Regions from separate parts of the Homo sapiens genome. Here regions 1, 2 and 4 are each linked to region 3. The links are contacts of gene promoters, found by promoter capture Hi-C in blood cells and fetal thymus (Javierre and others, 2016). All regions are on one chromosome and are shown on one strand. The core of a region is centred on a gene start or on the middle of the fragment in contact, and the rest is flanking DNA. Distances in the headings are between cores, read along the strand shown.

Evidence for each region. The method cuts DNA at HindIII sites, captures the fragments that hold promoters and counts their contacts. A CHiCAGO score of 5 or more calls a contact.
Region 1: a fragment that was not itself captured here is called in contact with the fragment with the promoter of FBXO8 in region 3 in 7 of 17 cell types (naive CD4 T cells, fetal thymus, naive CD8 T cells and 4 more); the score reaches 8.0 in naive CD4 T cells.
Region 2: a fragment that was not itself captured here is called in contact with the fragment with the promoter of FBXO8 in region 3 in 8 of 17 cell types (naive CD8 T cells, activated CD4 T cells, total B cells and 5 more); the score reaches 15.4 in naive CD8 T cells.
Region 4: a fragment that was not itself captured here is called in contact with the fragment with the promoter of FBXO8 in region 3 in 5 of 17 cell types (non-activated CD4 T cells, fetal thymus, total CD4 T cells and 2 more); the score reaches 12.5 in non-activated CD4 T cells.

The regions. Positions count from the first base shown.
Region 1 is chr4:173,241,489-173,248,092 of GRCh38, reverse strand. GALNT7 (polypeptide N-acetylgalactosaminyltransferase 7) reads right to left here. Exons shown (of 12, transcript NM_017423.3): 2 at 1-113. Among named protein-coding and RNA genes, the nearest start is that of MIR548T, 23 kb to the left of the region's middle. RefSeq lists silencers at 1,078-1,147, 1,168-1,217. The HindIII fragment of the contact is 3,403 bases long and covers 1,595-4,997 here.
Region 2 is chr4:173,171,279-173,174,203 of GRCh38, reverse strand. The region is part of intron 1 of GALNT7 (polypeptide N-acetylgalactosaminyltransferase 7); the gene reads right to left. Among named protein-coding and RNA genes, the nearest start is that of GALNT7-DT, 3.1 kb to the right of the region's middle. The HindIII fragment of the contact is 1,151 bases long and covers 964-2,114 here.
Region 3 is chr4:174,281,085-174,287,850 of GRCh38, reverse strand. FBXO8 (F-box protein 8) reads left to right here and starts at 4,184. Exons shown (of 6, transcript NM_012180.3): 1 at 4,184-4,441. It overlaps CEP44 (centrosomal protein 44), which reads right to left and starts at 3,940. Exons shown (of 12, transcript NM_001040157.3): 1 at 3,908-3,940. RefSeq lists a silencer at 3,708-3,975 and an enhancer at 3,740-3,989. The HindIII fragment of the contact is 4,999 bases long and covers 1,609-6,607 here.
Region 4 is chr4:173,267,490-173,273,852 of GRCh38, reverse strand. All of the region lies in intron 2 of GALNT7 (polypeptide N-acetylgalactosaminyltransferase 7), which reads right to left. LOC124900812 (a long non-coding RNA gene) reads left to right here. Exons shown (of 3, transcript XR_007058367.1): 2 at 1-6,363. It overlaps MIR548T (microRNA 548t), which reads right to left and starts at 5,693; the gene lies at 5,620-5,693. The HindIII fragment of the contact is 2,850 bases long and covers 2,661-5,510 here.

The sequences.
Region 1 (6,604 bases), core at 2,047-4,546, 1.0 Mb after region 3:
ACTTCTACTCCTTCAACATGAGGCCATGGTACCACAGGTTTGAATCTGTCCTCCCCAGGAGCTAGTCCATTGCCGCCTCGGTTGGGCATGGGGTCATTGACATCTCTGTCTTCCTATACAAAAGGGAGGGGATATACAATGAGTACATGAAGGCAAACCACCACAGTAGAGCTCATGAGACCAATTTTCAGGTTTTGAAAAAGGCTGAGGCAACAATAAAACAGTTTGGAATACAAGCGGGCCATTAATCAGGACTTCCCATTAGGAGATATCTTTCAGGGTAGAGAAGAAATACCAAGAAATAGGCTATCTCCTCGCCTTACTATTTCAAAATTAATGAAAGGATGCATTTTTACTTCTCCCTTTACAAATCTACTTCTCTATCAAAGACCTCTTAATAAAGCATATTTTTAAGGGTTAGAGCAAAGAAGTTCTAGAATCTTTGATTAAAACAGATGCTTAATAGGTCATGTTTGTACAGTATGTGGTTTTCCCAGTTGTACCGTGTGTGATAAATATAACCTTTTGTCGGTAGCACAACCATATGGTGGCAGTGGTATTAGATGGATGTCACTGTCAGCAGGCTGGCTCAGTGCCCCAAATGGCAGAGGAACAAGGCGGGGATATGCAGAGTCCCGATTTGGTATTTTTTACTCACTGAGAGTTTATCTGAAATCAGAAGTATAAAAAAAGCTAATATCTGTAACTAAGTCAGCTCGGGCTTTTAAACCACTCCCCCATATCTAGTTTGCCCCATTCCAGAAGCAGCATGGGTCAAAACAGATTCTTTGTACAAGGATATTCATTCACAGTAAAGGGTGCCTCTCTTTTCTGTTTGGGCCGTCTTCATCACCTATGCAGATCTTCCAGTCAGATATCCTGAGTGCTTTTGCTTCTGAGGTATTATTTGTTAAGTTTTTTCCTAAGCCAGTACCATTCTTCGCACAAGACACTGTTTCTCAACATTGGCATCACCTTGATCACTTTAAAAAATGCCAATGTCTGTGTCTTACCCTCAGACATTGTGATTCAATTGGTCTAAGCATTTCGATTTTTAAAAGCACTCCTGGTGATTTAATATACATCTAAGCCTGAGAATCACTGGCTTAATGGGAGGGCTGCTCGTTATAATTAGACAAGGGGATTATAGAGGACACAGCTGGTGAAGAGGCAAGGTGCATACAGAATAAATGCAAAATAGGCTGATGGGTCTGCCACTTCCCTCTACACTAAAACTGTGTGATTCCCCAACAGAGTAGTCATAGAATTAGCACCACCCGACCAAAATCTTTCTACAGGGTTAGAGCTACCTTGAAAAGTAAAGTTTACTAGTTTGCCTTAAAAAATACAAAAGTAAGTCTCTAAGTATGATGTTGATGTGTAGGCTGCTCTCTATTAGTAGTTTATTTAGAGGCAAAAACCTTTATAGAAAGTCAGTTATTTCAGACGTGAAATTAGTAGTCAAGGGATCGCTAAGTCTTGATTTTCAAGAGTTCAAAAAGAAATTTTTAAAAATTTTCTATTTGTTTAGGTAACATAGGCATACAACACAAAATTCAAAACATCCAAAAGGGCATGTAGTGAAAAGCAAGCTTTCCTGCCTTTCCTTCTGCAGGGGTAATTACAGCTACCAACTTCTTGTGAATTTTTCTACAGATGTGATATGCATGTATAAACATACATGTGTATATATAACAAGATAATTTTTTTTGAAGATGGGACATAAATTTTAACTAACTCATTAAAAAAGGAACCTGTAAGATATTACAACTGGTTCAAAAATAAATCCAAAGGACAAACATAAACATCAAGAATATTGCAAAGAATTTACAAATAGATGCAAATCTGGTTAAATTGGTCACTCTGCATAGGGCAATAATCAATTGCATTCCACCAGAACTATTTCCATTTCAATGGGCAAGAGTCCTTTGCATCACTCTCAGTTTTCTGTAATTTCCAGGATTGTAAAATAGGAAAGGGTGAGATAAGCTGGAAAGTTGAGTTAGACAGACATCTTTTGGGAGCATTTCAAAGTTTTTCACAAGTTCCCCCCTAAATAGAAAAGGCAACACAGCCTGATTGTATAAATGTGATGCCTTTCTTCAGGCATGTGTGGTACAGGGTTGAGAAAGCCTCTAGATCAGCCTTCTGATTGTCCCACCTCAGAGACTTAGCTTGAGCCTAACCTGTGAGCCATACTAAGGGTCAGAGTAAGTGAGTAGAAGGCTGTTTTTTTGGAAATCATATTCAGGAAGAACTGAAGATTCTCTTGGGAATTAACTAAGTAAAGTGTAAGGCACGCATGACTGTAAGAGAGAGGTAAGGGGTGATTCTGATGATGGAAAAAGTGTTCGTTTCTCCAATTTATCTCCTGGCTCCTTCCAAAATTATACTTACTTATGTTAGTGTTGTAAGTAAATTAATATAGAGATATCATTATAAAATGTTGTAACAAACTGGTTCCCAGTTGTTGATGCTGAAACAAGTATAACACAAAAAGGAGAAAGACATTCTCCTCCACTTCAGTTTTTCCTTTCACAGGCTCAAGTGAATTGGTAAACAGGGAGGTAAGGAAATGTTATTAAATATAGAAGAGTAGTTGGAACAGCTCATATGATGTCAGCATCCATAGCCATAGCATCCACTAAGTTACCTAATGTTCCATAGAGAAGAAATTGAATATTAGAAGAATATAGAATATGATAGTACATGAAATCAAATTGTGAAATACACGCCATAGTTTAGGTTGACCTATGCTAATACCAAAATTGCAAATTTAAATATTTTTCAAATTCAACTATTTCAATGACAGAAATTTTAATGGATTAAAAATTCATGTTTATTTTCCTCCAAAAGTTGTTTTTTTTTTTTTTTTTTGACTTAATGGTTCTTTGTCTAATCTTAAACTGTTAGTGTTCTTCAGGGTTCTGTTATTAGTCTATTTGTCATTCCATCCTCATTCTAGGTTATTTCATTCTCTTCCAAGCTCAGTGACCAGTTTTATAGTGATCACTGCTACATCCATTTCCCCAGCCCGTATCACCTTTCTGAACTCAAAACCTTACAGGCAACTTCTTCCTGAACATTTCTATTCATATCTCTCTAGTACCTAAATTTAACATACCAAAAACTGAACCTATCATTCACCTCACATCACAAGCCTGTTTCACTGACTGTCTCCTTACTTCAGGGACTGAAACCACCATTCACTCAACTGATGAAATCCAAAACCTGCAATCACCCTCAACTTTTTATTCTCTTTTATCTACCCTTCTGACATCCAATTAATCATAAATTCCTGTCAATTCTATCACCTGTGTAGAGCCTCCATCTGGCCACTTCTTTCTATCATCCTCACTGCTACTGCCTTAATTCAGGCACCCTCACCTCTGAACAAGATTACAATAGGAATAATAGTGATGATGGTAAACACTGTGTCCTAAGTGCTTCACATACATTAACTTATTCAATCCCATGAGTTAGGTACTATGATTGCCATGTCTATTTTATAGATGGGACATCTGACAGGGAAGTTACCTAAGATTAGAATCAGTATGTAGTAGAGTCAAAATTTCAATCCAAATAGTCTGGCTCAGGATCTACACTCTTAACTACTATGACCTAGTGCTTCTCGCCCTGACACATACTTCCTACACAGCAGCCACAGGGACTTTTCTAAAATTCATACATCAACATGTTTCTTTCCCTGCTTACCATATTCCAGCAGTAGCCCACTGCCCTCTGGAGAATACACACTCCTCAAGGGGGTTGGCAAGGCTTTTCCAGTTCTAGACTGCATTTATGAAATGTCTTCAGCACTATCCATGAGAGAGGGGTCAGCAAACTTTTTCTTCAAAGGGTTAAGTAGTAAACATGTTTGGCTTTGCAGACCACAGGGTCCCTGTGGTAATTATTCAAGTCTGCCTCTGCAGTGTGGGAGCAGCCATAGACAATATGTAAATGAATGGGTATGGCTGTGTTCCAGTAACCATGTATTTACAGAGACAGGTGTTGGGCTGGATTTGGTTCCCTAGTCCCTGCACTAGACTGTAAGTTCTGTGAAAGTGCAGAGGCTATGTCCATCGTACGCACCACTGCATGCCCAGTGCTTATCCTGGCACATAATTCCTCAATAAATACTCACTGAATAAATGAATGAATCCTAAAATTTCTGCTTTGGTGGTAAGATAGACTCCGAAAAGAAAAGGGGAGATAAAGAATGGAAAATACAAAATGGGAGAGCAGGGCTTAAATCAGATAGACCCGTACTGGCAATACCTTATGAATTCACCAAGAACATAACTCTATATTCCCTACACGGCACTGTACTTTTAATAATGCCATATAATAGCACCAGAAAAATTGAATTTGCTCACTTCTCAGAGGCTGCATGTCATTAAATCGGAAGGCAAAACCAAATACAAGAATTGTCTGTCTAACCCCAAGTCAACTAAGAATAATCACATCAAATCTTAATTATATGATTCAAACAACGGCTATAAAGTGGTGTAATACTTTACTCCCCTGAGGAGGAAAGCTACATACTCCTCCTTTCTGAGAGTGAATGAGAATCAGTAGATGCCTCTGTGACTCACTGGTACAATGATACCTTCGTAAACACCAGCTGATCCACTCTACAGCCCAAACTAATGAATCACTGTTAAACAGAAATGGAAAAGAGGATGAGTAGATAATTTTCCAAGATCAGTATGTTCATAAAGGTGGAAATGGACTGAAAAATATAACCACTTATCACTGGATGGTAATATGGATTACCAGAAGTAAGGTCAGGCTAGTAACCATCCACCTTACAACTTACAAAGTGCCCCTTCTTACCCCCAAATCCTGCTTATATGTAATATTTTTCCAAGATGGCCATGCCTTGGTAGAGATAATATAAATCCAAAGGGATTTAGAAAAATGGTCTTTAGAGCAAATGACAGTAACATAGGCTTGTTTGAATTTGAAATCACAGGTGAAGCCTAGAAAACTAAGCTTTTAATGATGAGCTTATGCAGTCACATGATCTCTTGAGAAATGATGACTTAGCTTTAGGAAAGGGCCACTGCTTGAACAACATGCACACTACTTGGTTATCATGCTTCATGAGCCACAGAATTTAAAGGTATAACAAGCCAAACTTCATTCTGTGATTTTAACTCTCTTGATCAAAAACACCTTTCTTCAGAAAAATCCTATCAGCATCCTTTCTCTGGCTGCAGTTACCTAAAAGGAGCAGAAGGAATGGACACAGAAAGCAGAGAGGGAGGTGGTAAAAATAAATAAGCTCCAGAAATTCAGAGGGAACAAGGCGTGCCAGTAGGCTGGGGCTCCCCAGACTCTCACCAACATGTGGCAGGATGTGGGTGGGAATGTGGAGTGCACCAGCCTCAGTACCCTTCTTTCTCTCTGCTTAGTTACAGCTGGATGGACTAGACATTTCCGGCTGACTGAAGAGCTCCATGTCTTGCTCCTTTCAGAGCACTGAGCGATGACTGCATTGGGAGCTGCAGCCCTGCTGGGCATGGTCAAGGAATTTGTGCTTAATCAGGGCTTAAAATGGATAAGCCCAAGATTAAACAGAGACCTTACCAGTCCTTAAATATCTAGAATGTCATCCATACAGGAAAGGACCCATTTCCAAGTATATTTTAATATCCCTAAACTAGAAAGAGATTGAAGGCCACTTTCCAATGGCAATGCCTCTGTTAGCAACTAGGGCAGAACTGAAAATGGATGAAGCATGCTTTCAGGTAACTATGGAAATATAAAAATTCTATATAAGCTCTAGGTGTGGCTTAAAGTATGATATTCTGGTAAGAATTATCTGCTCAAAGAAATAGACCCGCTTAGAGGAATTGCTATTCTTCTTTATCTTTTTTTTCCCTTTCTTTAAGTATCAGGCCAAGATATAAACCAAAGGGTAACAAAATAGAGAAAATAGTAGAGTTGACATCATAATGCTCCACTAAAAGAAATCAAGGTCAGCAACTCTAATACTGTATATTAAACTTAAGCAGGGTAACCAGGCTGAGTACTACACAGTAAACCAGTTCGTCCCAAAGTTACTTTACAGATTGAAACACTGGGACTCTTGACAATGGAGTGATGCCTATTATGGAATAGCTAATAGTTATATCTTTTATTTTTATCTCAAGACTTCTAATATACTATGGTAACTGCAGTTACAAGTGGGCAAGTCTGTGAAGCAGTTTTAGCCACCTACTGGGAAGATTTTATCGGGTTTCTAAGGGGGCATTTTGAGCCAATTAAATGCCACCCCCCTTTAACCAAACAAGCAAAATATATAATACAGTATATAATACAGATCTATCCTGTACTATAATGAAGAATACTGAAATAAATAAGTATCTTCCTAGGCTGCAGGGATCCATGATTGTGCCACTGCACTCCAGCCTGGGGACCAGAGCATGACCCTGTTTCAAAAACAAAGGTATCTTCTTAAAAAGTTGTCTATATCACATTTTTGATCACCTAGTCATCTGAATAAAAGGAAGATTTCCATTATATAAGAGCCTCTCAATAAATCTCACAATTTTGCAACTTGTTAACCAATCTTAGGATTTTTATGCATTACCATTTG
Region 2 (2,925 bases), core at 290-2,789, 1.1 Mb after region 3:
CAGACTTGGTGATGTGATATTTTTAATCATTATTATGTGTGGGGGGAGAAGGGGGATGGGACACTGAAAACAGCAAAGGAAACAAAAACCAATCCTAAGGTGTATAGCCTGGGAAACTGAGAGAACAGTGACCACTTAAGACACTACACTTTCACTAAGTGATAGCTCCATCCCTAATAGTATAAACAGAGCTTCCATTTGAAGTACAATCTCATGTTCAAGGGCAGAATTTTTCAGGTTACAACTGATCATCACTGAGATAAAATGGCTTTGGTAAGGTGGAACTTGACTGCCAGGGTAATCAGTTCAGCCACTAATCCTCATTTAAGCTATATTCCTTTCAAACCTGTTAGCTTGCCTATCACATAAAACCTCTTGGCCTACTAGTTCCTGAATTAGTCCTATTATATACACCCTGAACCTAAGTGGCATTAATGACTTGACTAAAGTTGCATTTGCATATCCAGAGAGTCATTAGTTTACACACAGCTTCTCACCAGTACTGAATGTTTTAATGCAGGGGTCCCCAACCCTGGGTCATGGAGCATAAACCCTATTGTGAACTGCATGCAAGGGATCCGGGTTGCACACTCCTTATGAGAATCTAATACCTAATGATCTGAGGCGGAACAGTTTCATCCCCAAACCATCCCCCACCCAACCCAACTCCCCCAGTCTGTGGAATAATTGTCTTTGACAAAACCAGTCCCTGGTGCTAAAAAGGTGGGGGACTGCTGTTTTAATGGATCTGTCAACATTTCCTTTAAAAACCTTTATTTTCAGAGGCTTATGGGTCAACTGTAGACAGTCACTCAGGGCTAAAACCTGGGATAAATGGTGTTAGTCTGGGACATAATTTATTTAATTAAAGGAACTTTCTGTGCTTTGCAAGTCCAAGCAGATAATCTTAATAAATGCTGACCTTAAAATATCCAGAGGGCAAAGACTAAAAAAAAAAAAGCTTCCCATAATCATAAAATACAATACAAGAAGGTATACATTTTGCTTTGAGAACTTTCCATAATGAAACAAATAATCTATCATCCTAGGCCTCCTGACACCTTCACTACCATATCCAATAGCCAAATCCTGATGCCTTTGCATCTTTAGGAGCTCTTGAATCAATTTATTTTTTTCTATCTCTACCACCGCCCTGCCAATCTAAGCAAGGATTATGTCCCACCTGAATAATGATGACCCCCACCAGGACTCCTGCTACCTGTTCTATAGACAAATACATACTTTCTGTAGGCAGCCAGAGTGATCTTTTCAAAACACAAATCCACTCTTCCCTACTTAAAATCTTTCAACGGCTTCTCACCGCACTTAAGATCTCCTCCTTAGCATGGACTACGAGACCCATGCTTTCCTGTGTGGCATCATTCTACTTGTCATTCTCCACGTTCCAACAATATTTATCTCCTAGTTTCTCACTATTTCACTCATGCTACCTCCTGCCTCAGGACCTTTGCCCAAATGCTCCTTCTCAAGAATGCTGCCACCCACTTCCAGATTAACTACTTTTCTTGAAATGTTCAGATTTCGCCTCAAAAGTCAGAGTAGGCAGCTAGGCAGACATGAGCAGGGCAGGAAAGGCCCCCCACCACCAGGAATGTCAGGCGGCCATCAGGTGATGGTCAGGCCGTTGTTAAACTGTCTCTCTGAAATAATAATTGGTCGCGCCAACACCATGGAAAGGCAGTCTCCCATTAGATAGAAAACACCTAAAGCTGGTTATCAGCAGGTTCCCACTAAGATCTCAGGAGTTGGGCAAGTGGGCTCCAGCATGTGCACTAATAGGCAAAATGGCAGCTTTTAACTAGTATATGCCCTTCCTCTAGGAAGGCTCAAATTGTAAGGGAAAAATGCCTCAAGTGAGCATGAGTAAAACTTCAGTAAACACACTGCAGGCAGCCCCTCCCCGCTGCTGGCAGGCCACTGCGCATGCAGACAGCCCACCCCAAGGGAAGAATCACGGGAGAAGAAACGCAAACCCTGGAATCATGCCAATGTATAAAACCCCAAGTCCAGGGTCAGACGAGGTACTTGGATTTCTCAAGTAGCCCACATGGCCTTCTTCAAAGTGTACTTCCTTCCGTTCCTGCTCTAAAGCTTTTTAATACTCTCACTCCTGCTCAAAAATTTGCCTCGGTCTCTCACTCTGCCTTATGCCCCTCCAATAAATTCTTTCCCACAGGAGGTAAGAATCGAGTTGCTTCAGACCTGTGTGGATTTGCTACTGCTAATAGTCATTTCTTCAAGTAAGGCTTTTATGACCAAATTCCTCCATTTTCTTGCCCCCTATGGTTTTCACTATGAAAGCAGTAGCACAATTTTTATTTATATATTTATCGAGGTTTGATTGCTGTGTGGTTTTTACAAGATCCATGAGATTAAGGACAAGGAGTATTTCCTTAACAACTAGTACCATGCCTGGTATATAATTGGCACTCAAAAATGTTCAAATAAATCAATATTTAAAATCACACAACAGAATATGATCGGAAATGTAAGGTCATTTTTCACATCATTCACTTCAGAGAAAGGGCAAGAGGCCCAGAGATGGGAAGGAAATAAGAAACATGTTTCTTTTGTCTTGACTCCACAGGTGGACAGACCTAAAACAAGGAAATAGTGCAGATGAGAAAGGACCATCCCAAGTTGTCAAGGCTGTAACAGAATTTAGTGTATGACATATTCATAGTTCAAGACAAAAAGTGGCACAGGGTGAATGGAGCCACAGGTACAAGCTTGCTGGAGTAGAGGCAGAACCCATACCTGGTAAACTGGATCGTTCAGGCTATTTAAAGGGATCCAAAAAAGTCCATGTGTAGATCAGCATTAAAGAGAAGCAGAGATCTCACCATGGGTGGAATATATGCAATAGTCATCGAAGTAAAAGAACCACAAGGGGGAGGAGAAACT
Region 3 (6,766 bases), core at 2,935-5,434:
CTCTACCTAATTCATTTTCTTTCTTACCATGAAATTATAGAAACAAAAAGGTTACTGCAAAACACTTATAAACATATTGTCAGCATGAAATAATTATAATTATCCTATAATAAATTGTACCTTTTGAACAATTTTGGTCACTTTTTGATCTTCGTGTATTAATAAGTTAATACATGTAAATCATAACCAGAAGGGAAAATCAAAACATTCCACTTACCAAGTAATGATGAAAAAGAGAATGTGTGTGATTTAGTTAATTTAAAATATTATAGAAAGCAACAAATAACAGAAATGGTATCTGGGATAAAGTTCCTGGACCTGGATAAGGATGTTTGGTGATATCTCAAGCTGTTCAACACCTTTGCACATGCCATTTCTTCAAGCTTGAAGAGATACAGAGCAACTCCTTCCCTCTCCCATTCTCCATCTGGCTAATACCCCTCGGCATCCTGCTTAAATGTCACCACCTCAAATAAGTCTTAGATCCCAAACTAATTAATCCCCCTCATTAATTTTCTCTAATAGACCCAGTTCTTTTCCTTCTTGGTACTTATCATAATAAAGAACCAAAATCTGTGCCAAGGGTCCAAAATAGCACTCTACCTGAAAAGCAACACTTAATCCTTGTCATTTCTCAGCTCTATTTCAGAATGAGCTGGGTTACTACCTGGGGTCCCATAACGACCTATATCCCAATGGCCTAGAAATAGAAGGAATACACCGATTCCCCCTCTTGATGCTGATTCTTCACTTTAATAAGCCACCACCATTGTCAGTCAAGATGTTTTGCACTGTCATCGGTCCCAAACTCCTGCTGGTTAGCCAGCTGTCTACTTCCAAGAAGAAAAGGTGAACACAGAAAAAAAGGCAAGAAATTCAAAATATCTATGCTTTTTACAGAAAGAGTAAATGGTACAATTATTTTGGAAAACTTACTGGTGATACCTACTAAAAGCTGACATACATGGGGCCTATGAAACAGGAATATGACTCTGAAGAATGTACACAACAGAAAAACACATACGTGAACCAAAAGATTTGAACGAACTGAGACTTTAAACAAAATGATTCATTTTTTAAAAACTGCCCCAAAAGTAATAGCATGGAATTTATTTCTAAATGACTAATTTTCTTGCATGGAGTGGGACTTTCATTAGATTATCAAAGGAGATTTTTCCCAAAGAAGAGTCATAAATAGGTATATAAACGATTAAGAACCTTTGCTGGAAGGAGGTAAGTTTCTGAACTATAAAAGTCTAGTCAGCCAGTAACGTGAAACTCAATAACTTACATAAAAACATCTACCACAACTGTCCATGGACACTTCATAGAAGAAAAGTAATACATAACAATACCTTGAGTAATGAACCCTTTGAGAATGAAGCTCCTTTAAAATGAAGTTATCACATTAAAATGAAGTCATTATATTAAAATGAAAACAGAACAATTCATAAATCAGGTGAAGCTGGGTTAGTGTGATCTTTTCCTCCAATTCGCATTACCCAGCTGTCCAGGATACAAATCATCCCTTTACACACCGTTTCTCTATCTTTAAATAAGGAAAGGTAAGAAGGTCACCGATTTACAAAATCCTAAATTTAGTAAGCTTCCTACTTTAAGCCCCTCGCCACTCATTTCCACAGCCATTTCCCCAGGGTAGAGCAACTGCTCCCTCTTTATGAACCTACCTTTCTGTTCCTAGTCTCCTTTATCAACATGGTAGGCAACAGCTTATTGAATATACTTTATAGACTTGTGCATGCACATTTTAGTCACTATTTTTCAGCCAATAAATTACTTCAACTAAACATTTACATTTCTAGACAGAGATAATTTTAGGTACTGTCAAATGGGAGATAACTAGAAAAAGAGAAAGTCATCCTGAAATCACATTATACAAAACACTGGCCAAGAAGGTAAACCCTATTTAATATCCTTTAGACTGACTGGGGGTAGATGGACACACGGAAGCCTAAAAGGGATTTCCCAAGATAAGCCTTTACTTTCCTGAAAAACATGAAGTGAGGACTACTCTGGCTTTAACCGCAAAAAATGTATTCTTGGATTTTGCCACTGGCCAATATAGTAGGTCTGAGCTTCTTTCGGGTTCCAGACCCATCTATCGTAACACAATTCTTCTAGGGATACCTTCTTCCCAGTAACTTTAATGTAAATTCTATGTCTTTCCAGACTTCCTTTAGTCCTTCCAGATGTATATTCCATTTTCCCAGTGCAAGTAATTCTGTTTTACGTAACACTTTATGATATCTTCTCACCTTTCCTTTTTCTGACATTTTGGAAAACATTTCAGTGTCTCTTACATGATTTCTACCTCTGATAATGGAATTTCTGACAACAAAGTTATGTCTCTCTTCAGTACCAGTGAATAAATATTTTGAAGAGTAATACAAGCAGAGCTCGTGAACGAGGTAAGTGATAGGAGACAGAAAAATAAAGGGATTTAAAATTGGGATTATCACAGAATAAAATTACAGCTACTGCTCTACATTCTCACAAAGGGCTTTACTAAGTCTACTATAAAATTCAAAAGCCTTAAAAACAAGACATTAAAAGAAGCCAATCTATTACTTATGTACATTTTAACACCTTACTTTCATTAATGAAAAATACTTTTAAAAATTTAACATTTTCAACTTATAGCACTGATCAAAGGCAAACTAAGGAAAAAAGGAGATACCACTCAGCTTGCAGCATAGATTCAATAATAAAGAAGCTCTCAATATTCCTTTCTAGCTTCCTTCCTTGTCTACAAGTCAGATCTGCGCAATTGAACTTGTGGGAGAGGTTGTGAAAATAGTGTACTCTAGCAGTTTAGGATTTTCAACATCGCTCAATCTCATTGCTGTTAGAGGTCATTAAAACAATGCCTCCCAATAGAATGTCACTGGACCAGAGTGATTTTTGTTTAGAATGAAGCAACTACACTGACTCTAATAACAGTCAATGGCTAAGAGTTTGTGACATAGCACATAATGCTCGATATTATCTAAAAACACGTATCAAAAACAAAAAAGTAAAGATGAGAAAAACAGTTTATGAAACTGCAAAAGATATTAGGGAAATACTTCTCTAAGAGATAGGAGAAAGGTCTGAGAAAGGCAAAGCATCGAGAAAGCTGGGCGGGAGTGGGGAGGAGTAAGGGACAAGTAAAGAGTTCAACGGGACTGCTGTGTTCACACATAAAATTAAAAGGTCTGCAGATAATTCGGGAAAAAAACAGTCTAGCATGGCCATAATTCCAGAGTAAAAGAGAATAACAACTTCAAGATTAACTTGTTACAGTGAGGGAAAAATCTGTAGCCTTCAATAAAGGTGGAGAAATATTTGAAAAGCTGGGGAAATGCCAACAAGGAAAACACGAACTGCTGTCCTGTCTTCCTTATAGTCAGGAGCCGTTTGTATCCTCACCCCAGAGGATCCAATAGGAATCAGTAAGCCTATAACTTTCCAACCCTAAGTCACAACCTAATTCTGATAGGATGAGCTACCACGATACTTCCCACTTCGTTGTGACTAAAAGCATATACTAGTTGGGTATATAAGCAAGGCTCCCCTCCCGCCATTTGATTTAAAAGAATGAAAAGGCGGATCTGGTCATTCGTCTCCGCCCGGGGTCTCTGTAAGGACGGCGGAGAGAGGCGACCTCCGCCCAATACCAGGCGCAGCCTTGCCGTCTCCTCGGGGCTCACCAAGCAGCCACCAGCAAAGAAGCCGGTTTCAAAGGCCCAGCACGACAGGGAGAGGAAAACGGAGCATATGCAACCATACACAGTCACCAGAGTCCAGCCTCCCGCAACCAGTCGCTACAGCCAGGCGCCTGCGCCCAGAAGCGCTTCTCGCGCCGACCGTTTGTATTTGGAATTGTGGGTTCCTGCCCGCCACGCACCACCGCAAGACCTTCAAAGCTGGGAGCTTCTCTGTGCTCCAGGATTCCTCGCTGCCGATTCCACACCGCGTTCAAGACTCCTGTGAAGAGCGACTCCGCTGAGAGCCTCCTCAATGGCCAGTCCACTTCTAACTTGCAGCTGAGAAGTTTTTCTGATCTTGATGGTCAGAGTGGCTCGTGCTACGAAGTGAGAAACAAGGAATCTATAGCGAATCGTAAACAACAGAAATAAAAATGCGTCTCCGTTAAGAGTCGGAGCCTAACGTCACTTCCGGCAACAATAGGAAACGTCAAAATTGGGATAGTCGGCAGTTCTGGCCCCTGCAGCTGGAGGTACCCTGAGTTCTGAGGGTCGTAGTGCTGTTTCTGGTATTCTCATCGCGGTCACCTCTACCGGTGTGGACAAGTAAAGTTTGAATCAGCTTCTCCATGGCCTGGGCACCAGTTCCCGGCTGAGCCATTTTCCTTTTGGCTAAAAGTCCCCGCCCAGAGGCCAATTCGTCGCGGCGGCGGTGGAGATCGCAGGTCGCTCAGGTACAGGAGTCAACCTAGATATTTTAGATCTCTTGTCTCTTTTCCCTGTTCACCTTCACTTTTCTCGAAAATAAAGACAACCAGTGCTTGCCAGTTGGCCGAAACTGGCCGACCAGCAAGAGTTTGCGACCAATGACAGTGCGAAGCATCTTGAGTGACAGTAGTGGTGGCTCATTAAAGTGAGGAATCACTGTCAGGAGGCGGAACTGGGTGTGTTCCTTCTGTTTCTAGGCCATTGGGGTGTAGTTCGGTTTAGGACTCCAAGTAGTAACCCAGCGTCATTGTGAAATAAACCTGAGAAATGACAAGGGTTACTTTCTTCAGGTCCAAGTGTTGGTTTTCGGGTCGAGTGTTATTTTGGTTCCTAGACAGTTTTTGGTTCTTTACCACTTTCCAGTAATATGAATGCAAACACAAGTATAGTTAAGATCACGATGGATTGCTAGCTGCTACAGTAGTCAAACTTGGGTTATAAAACTTGTCAAACTTGTCTTTTATTTGTTTCTCAGCGACTGGGTTCTAATCTCTTACGTAGAAGGTTCTCAATATTTATTTGGCAAAATCACATAAATGGATCCCAATCCTCAGTCATTTAATTTTTTTAGTTTTATTTTTAGGTTCTGTATGAATTTACTAATAAAATAATTGATTCTACTTGTTTTACAAGTAAAATATTCATTTTCAAGGCTCCTAGGTGTATATCCACAAATGAATATATCATGATTTTTATTACGGTAAAGTGAAGACAATTTATGTTTTCTATTTCAGCTTTCCTCTTCCTTCTTTTAATGTTTGAAGTAATGTATTTCTGAGGTAGGAGCTCTACACACTTCTCAACTCTACCCTTCACGAAAATGATATGTGAAACAGAGTAGGTTTCAGAATAAAGAATGCATAAGTTTTATTATTTTTTTCATATTGGGTCAGAAATTCATCTTTAGCCAATTAACCTGACAATATGTCTGATGAGGTACTTCATTAGTTGTCTATTGCTGGGTAACAAATTACCCCCAAATTTACCCCAGCTTAAAACAACAAATATTATCAGTTTCTGTACATCAGGAATTAGGGTGCAGCGTAACTTCATTTAATAATAAGTTACAGCAAATTAACTAATATTACTTGGGGCCCTTGGATCAATTACTTCCATCCACAAAATATTATAGTAACTTCTAGATAAGCCAAAACATTGATCATAATTTATTACATATGGTCACTTTAATGGGGAATGTTTTGTGTGTTTACTGTTGCTAGGTTAAAAGATATCTTCCTCATTTTACAATATAAAAACATTGAATTACCAAATCTTTAATCACAGTGTGTTGAAATTAGTCATTCAGATTTGTAACTTTATGGTTTATTATTTAACCAACTGCTAATGTACAACTAATTTTTTCCTCATTTTGATTCAGATTTGGAAACTGGCACTATTCCATTGACTGACCCATGATAATGCATCAAAATCATTAATACTAAAGTCTAAGAATTATGCATTTAATTTCTGTTTCTTTTTCTTGAATTATTTTACTTAAATAATTTTTTAAACAATTTAAATGAAATACATCTATTTCTGGAAATTTATGTTCACTATTTCTTTTTCGTTTTGCTCTCATTGTTTTGTTTTTCTGACAAATTTCTTGACTTAGCTCTCTAATAAACTAAAACATTTTTGGCTGACTTGAATAAATTTATATCATATTTGGGGCAAGTATTTTTTTGAGACAGATTTTTATTCTGTTGCCCAGGCTGGAGTGCAGTGGTGCGAACAAGACTCACTGTAGCCTTGACCTCCTAGGTTCAAGCAATTCTCCCTCCCACCTCAGCCTTCAGAGTACCTGGGACCACAGGCACACGCCATCACGTGTGGTTATTTCTTTTAATTTTTTTGTCTGACTGTGCTGCCCAGGCTGGTCTTGAAGTCCTGAGCTCAAGCGATCCTCCTTCCACAGCCTCCCAAGGTTCAGGAATCATAGGTGTGAGCCACTGTGCTGGTGCAAGTACTTTATAGCAATATAAGATAAAAATATTTGTGGTTTGGAGTTTAGGCAACAGCTTTAGGGAGTTTAACCATTTAGTCAGCAGTTCGTGTATTTTTCAAGAATAGATTGCATAGGATTCATAAGCTATTTGAATGAAGGAACCAGATTTTAGCAAGTAAGCCAAGCTTGGAGAGACTCTATATGGAGTAGTGATTTGTGGAAGTCATGAATATAGGGAAAAAAGAGATGGAAAGGACAGATGTTAAATACACACACACGCACGCCATCATCTCTTCTTTTATTTATTAATTTGTTTTTCAGAGTTTTTTCCCTCATTTTATTTTTA
Region 4 (6,363 bases), core at 2,836-5,335, 1.0 Mb after region 3:
ACCTTATTCCACAAGGACTTTGAGCAGCTTACAAAGACACACAGAATAAAACAGTATTACAAAAGTTAAAAATAGAAGGAGGGAAAAAGATGGATAAAGAAAGAATGAGAGGAAAAAGAAGGAGGAATCAAGAATGAGGTTTTAGAAGTATATACCAGAGGGTCAAGGGCTCCTGTGTGCACAGTTCTGGGGTACGACTGACAATGAGCACACTATGAACGCACCACCCCAAGTGAGTAGCATGGTGGGTTGGGTATACCAAATACTTCTTATGGGTAAATCACAATATTGGCTTGAATTTTCTAGCAAGAAAACCTGGTGAGGTCTGTGTTTAACAAACCAGTTGTTCAGAAGAAGTACAATATTCATGGCGTGAAGATCGGATGGGATTTTTTGTTGTTGTTTTTAAACAACAACAACAGGGGCCTCCTTATGGTAAACACAGTAAAGAGTTTCACTGTGCTGTTTTCCATAAAGACTTCAATGGAGACCAATGGCATTGTACCAAGGTGCAAGTCAGTAAAAAACAGTTGTGCAGAGAACAAGTTGGGAATTTAAGTTCAACACAGATTTGAAAATCACACTTTACAAACATTCCTTAAAATGTTTATTGAGTCATCTCTCCCAATCCATGTTTCATCACTCAGTGAGTGATTATATGCCTTCTCGATGTACTCTAATTACAATGAGGAAATGACATCAACCATATGGAGGACTTACATTTCCAAAAGCAAATTTCAACACTGTTAATGACTGAAGAGGTACAGTCTTACAGTAGCAGCATGATAACTTTAGGCTGGAGTTAGTAAATAATTTCTCAAAAGAGAATTGTTAGATATTACAGGATTGGTTGCAAGACAGGTTGTAATATTTACTTACAGAAGTCTTAAACATTGATAGTAATGGCCCTATAGCAAAATGAAGAGATGTACTAGATCGTTTTTTGAAGACCCTCTCCACTGTAAAACAAATATGGAAAAGAGTATGTAATATACAACAGTTAACATTTATTAACTCACAGAACAGACATTTTCTGGGGTTAGTAAGAATATATGTTGGCTACACTTAGTAATTTATCTTGTTAAAGATATTAGGAAACAAGTAGTTCATTAGCATATAATTGATACATATGAGATGTTTAAAAACGTTGTAAAGGAGAAAATTTGGTAATACTATTTCAAAAAATTATTGCGGTAGTCTACCTCATTTCCGGAATCAATTGAGTTATCTTTACTTATCTTTTTACATCTCTGCTTCATTGTAATTTTCCAGAAAATCAAATCTTTCTGAGGCGAGTGAGTCACGAAGAGTGAGTTGAAGTTAGTTATCAAATAGTTTATGGCTCAAAGATGGGATGGAATTATAACAACTGAGATGGTATGTTAATTCTCACTCTGAAAGAGGCAGATGCCAGAAAATCTCAAACCAAAATTTTAGAAAACATTTTAGTTCACTTAAAATCTGGCAGGGAACCCAATGACTTAACTCATGTGAACACTGCATGTAAGCTATGGTCAACTGTCATCTTGAAATAGTATCAGTTTGTTGCATTCTCTCTTGAGAGTCCCTCAATTTCTAATGGTCTACAGATAGTCCATATACAGGGGGAGACCATTACCAAAGGAGACAAAAAAAGAGAAAAATGGAAAAGGGCAAAACAAATATATTCTGTATGAAGTGGAAGCAGTGAGGGACAGGGATGGAGAGCAGAGGAGAGACTCCAGAGTTGACAAAACACTACCAAGTAAAAGGAACCAGTTATTAATCCTTTGATTTAGTGATTCCACTAGGAATTTGTCCTCTTGAAATAATCAATGATGGGCACAAAGACTGAGCCATAAGCGGGTTCCTCACAGCATTGTTTACAATAGTGAAAACCTGAAAATAATCCAAATGTCCCAAAATAAAGGATGGATGAAATAAATTGTGGTCATCCATGCAGCAGATCATATAGCTAGCAAAATGGTGTTGCACAAAAAATATTTAAAGATACATAAAAATGTGTAAAAACAATTTTAATAAAATTTTAGAAATAATATATAACATCTAACCTCATCTTTTAAAATGACCTCATATTTTTAAAATATACTACTTGGGGCCAGGCACAGTGGCTCACATCTATAATCCTAGCATTTTGGGAGGTTGAGGTGGGTGGATCACCTGAGGTTAGGAGTTCGAGACTAGCCTGGCCAATGTGGTGAAACCCCATCTATACGAAAAATACAAAAATTAGCCACGCCTGATGGTGCACACCTGAAATCCCACCTACTCGGGAGTCTGAGGCAGGAGAATCACTTGAACCCAGGAGGCAGAGGAAGTTTCAGTGAGCTGAGATCCCACCACTGCACTCCAGCCTGGGCAACAGAGCAAGACTCTGTCTCAATAAATAAATAAATAAATAAACAAACAAACAAACAGTTTAACATAAATATATGTATTACTTGGCTGGTAGGATTACAGGTGATTGTTTTTACTTTCTTCCTTTAAATATTCTACTAAACATAAATACTTCTTTCCTTTTTTCAAAATATTTAAAGTTGCTACTTAAGACAACTACAAGTGAATGGAACATTACTCTGGCAGCTTCATAATCAGCAAACCCCTGGGCAAAAAATCTAGCCTGATACCTTTATTCTCATAAAAAATAATACATTAAAGCTTTCCCCAGAACAACAATGTCAACTTACTAACAGAATTAGACCAAATTTTCGTATTCACTTTGCAGATGGCTTTGCTGAAAATGCATCTATTCTAAAAAGCAAGGGCATATTTTAAAAATCATTACTATTTATACCCATTCTCATTTTGATTCAATAGGTTAATTGAAAGATTTGCAAATTATACTGAGGGGAACTTTGTGCTTCGTTGCTGCCAGTTTTTTCCCTTCTGATATCAGCTGGTTATTCCATCTAATATATAGTCCTTCTAGATAGCTGTCATACTGATAGAGCAGGAGCCTGCACAGAATGCAGCTGCCAAGAAGACTGCTGTTTCTCAGAGGGCTGCAGCAGCTAAAAGCAAAGATAAATGTGCTTAAGCGGGAAAGGAAAACACAAACAAAGATACAAGAGCTCTGCTGGAAGAAATCTTTTACAAGGGCCAGTTGCCAACTTTTGGTGGTTTATAAATCCAAAGAGGAAAGCCAGAGCTTCTGAATTCCAGTATAATGTTCCAAATATTACTGAGTAAATATGTTTAATTATCACCACTTTAAAGCATTTCATGTGGAGGAAAAATTATATCTTTTGATGAAAAAAATCCATCAAAAACCTTAGAAATCCTAAATACTCTGAAGCAATTGAGATAGGCGTCCAAGATTAGCTTCACAGCACTGACCTCTATGGTGATCTTGAATACGAAAGCCTTCATAAAAGAAAGGAGGCTGTTTCCACAGCTTCCTCATTACCTAAGGTATTGGAATGCAGAACATCAATTATCCCCTAAAATATTCCCCAAAACACTTGTCACAAAAACAAGCATTTTTTTTTCAATCTTCAAAACTCAAGATTTCATAGGAGCAATTTGACTGAATCCCTCAGGTACCTAATGTCTCATTTTCTGAAGCTGATGTCAATCTGCTATATCTTTATTCTGGAGAGCACATGCAATTACAAGGGTTATTGCCACAGTTTAAAGGGAAAAACATTTCCCCTGTACCTCCAAATTATCCCACTTTAATTTCAAAGATTTCCCCATGAAATCATCCATATCTTCACATATTGCCAATAATAATTGCGCTATACTTCTGCAGAATGGTTAAAACCAGTGGCTATGGGTCCAAGTACACTTGATTATCTTTTTATATTTTTCAGGTTCTAGAAATATGCATACATTTATATCATCTAGTTCTTTCTTCACAGGACTTTTGTAAACGACTTCTCCCACAATCAGCTGATGAGGTGGGGTGTCTCTAGTTTTACTGGATATGAAACATCCTAGCATCATGACTGCAACTTTTGATCCTCAAGAAGCATTCCTTTTCCTGCATGATTATAAAATTGGACTTTATGGCCGTGGTCTATCGGAGTTTGTTGTATATTTCTTTGAGACCAAGATTGAAGTAAGAAACAGGTGCAATGACTACTTGGAAAGAATTTAAATTACTTCTGTTGAGGAGGAGGAGGAGGAGGGAAGATTAAATCTAAAATTATTAAGTATTCCTGAAAAAAGTCAAAGCTAGTTACCAGGATATTAAATAGATTCAATACAGCATCCAACCATTTAGGAAAGGTGATGCACTTGGGGCCTGAGGATATGATACTATCACATTTACGTGGTCATAAGGACCTTTGAAATTCAGATTAGGTCTGCTTATCAGCAGAGACTATTTCAGCACTAAATCTAATAAATATTCCAATCAGTGCAAAAGACCTCCTGTGTTCCATAGCTCATGTCACTAACTGCAGCAGCTTCTGTTGGGTACACCTTGGCATGATTCCAGCTGCCTTCCCAAGCCCATTTTAGCAGTTAGGTATCTATAAAAGGAGGTGGAAGATAAAGTGGGGAGGGGTGGGAAGGAGCAAGGAAAGATGAATTATGGGCGGAACATATAATAATAACTCGGCCACTTTATTTCTATTCCTTAAATGGAAAAACAAAATTTGATGCTTTTTGGTCTTCACATTTCTAAAAGCCATTATCAGATTTCATTTTTGAAATAAATTAACAGACAAAAAATATTTTGTTTTGTTCTGTGCCTCTGTTGTCTGAGTGCCCCTATAATAAGACATGCTTATCTGACAAACATCAGAGGAGCCATGCCCCTCTGAGAAACATCTTCACTGTTACTGAGATTTGGGTTTATTATAATGGGGTACTGGGCATTTTGCCCACTAACTATATAGTAAATATTTCTGTGATTAACCTGAGCCCCATACTAAATATACAAAAATTCAGTGGCTCCTTATTATTTGTGGATTCTACGTCCACAAATGTGGATTGCAATTGGAGATGCCTGATGGGCATGCACACGAGGATGTTCTGTTTCTTGTTTCTGCTCATAGAGTAAACAAGTGTCCGGGTGCGGTGGCTCACGCCTGTAATCCCAGCACTTTGGGAGGCCAAGAAGGGCGGATCAAGAGGTCAGGAGATTGAGACCATCCTGGCTAACACGGTGAAACCCCATCTCTACTAAAAATACAAAAAAAAAAAAAAATTAGCTGGGCGTGGTGGTGGACGCCTGTAGTCCCAGCTACTCGGGAGGCTGAGGCAGGAGAATGGCGTGAACCTGGGAGGCAGAGCTTGCTGTGAGCCAAGATGGCGCCACGCCTGGGCTACAGAGCGAGACTCCATCTCAAAAAAAAAAAAAAAAAAAAAAAAAAACGAGAGAGAAAACAAGTGTCCTATTTGCAGTTTGTTTGGTGCCACAGATTTTCTCATTTTTGTGCTTTTAGTTGGTAATTTTGCTGTTTAAAACAGCCTCCCGAGAATAATGTCAGTGTGCTACCTGGTATCCTAAGCACAAAGATGCTGTGCTGTGTCCTGTGCAGAAAATCCACGTGAGACAAGCTTTGTTTGGGTGCGAGTTACAGTGCTATTGGCCCTGAGTTCAATGTAAACCCATCAACGTTATAGGTAAAATAAAGTGTCTTTAAATAGATACATGCCTAAAACAAGGTTAGGTTGGTGCAAAAGTAATTGTGGTTTTTGTCATTAAAAAATTGCAAAAACCACGATCACTTTTGCACCACCCTAACATTTTTCTTCACTTCTCTTGACGCAAATTATAGATTCAATCACCCAGCACTTACAAGCAAGCATTTCTTTATCTTAGGTTGACCTTAAGAACTTCTTTGTATTTACTAACTTCCTTTAGGACTCCTCCTCTTTTGTAGTAAGACGGCAGGATGAAATACAATGAAGAGGGTACCATATTTTAAAGATAAGGCTGAATACCACACACCTGGCATGATGAGAGGCCTATACAGAAAAAAGAGCTTCTGAAGCTTCTCTATGCCACACAAGGGATGAAGGTGGCCTCCAACAACTGTGACCTCCAACCGGTGGAGCTCATGTGTGATATGCCTTTTATGTCCTTTAGCACATTTGTTACCCACAATAACTTTACAAGCCAAGTATTATTATCCACAATTGCTAGAAGAGGAAACCAAAGCTCCCTAAATGCTCAATATCATGCTCATCACTCTTTCAGCTCTGTATGGGATTCCCAAAGTGAACCTCATGTGTATTTATGAACTTGGCACTCTCGGATACCATGCAGCACCCCTCATTTTCTGTGAGCTCTGCTTGCTGAGGTGAAGACTCTGCTGCAAAGGGGCCCCTGGTCCTGTGAAGCTGGTCCCCCTGCTGTGCCTATTCTAAGGAATGGCCATTGCTGATGACATTTGCTGGTCTGTGCCCAGG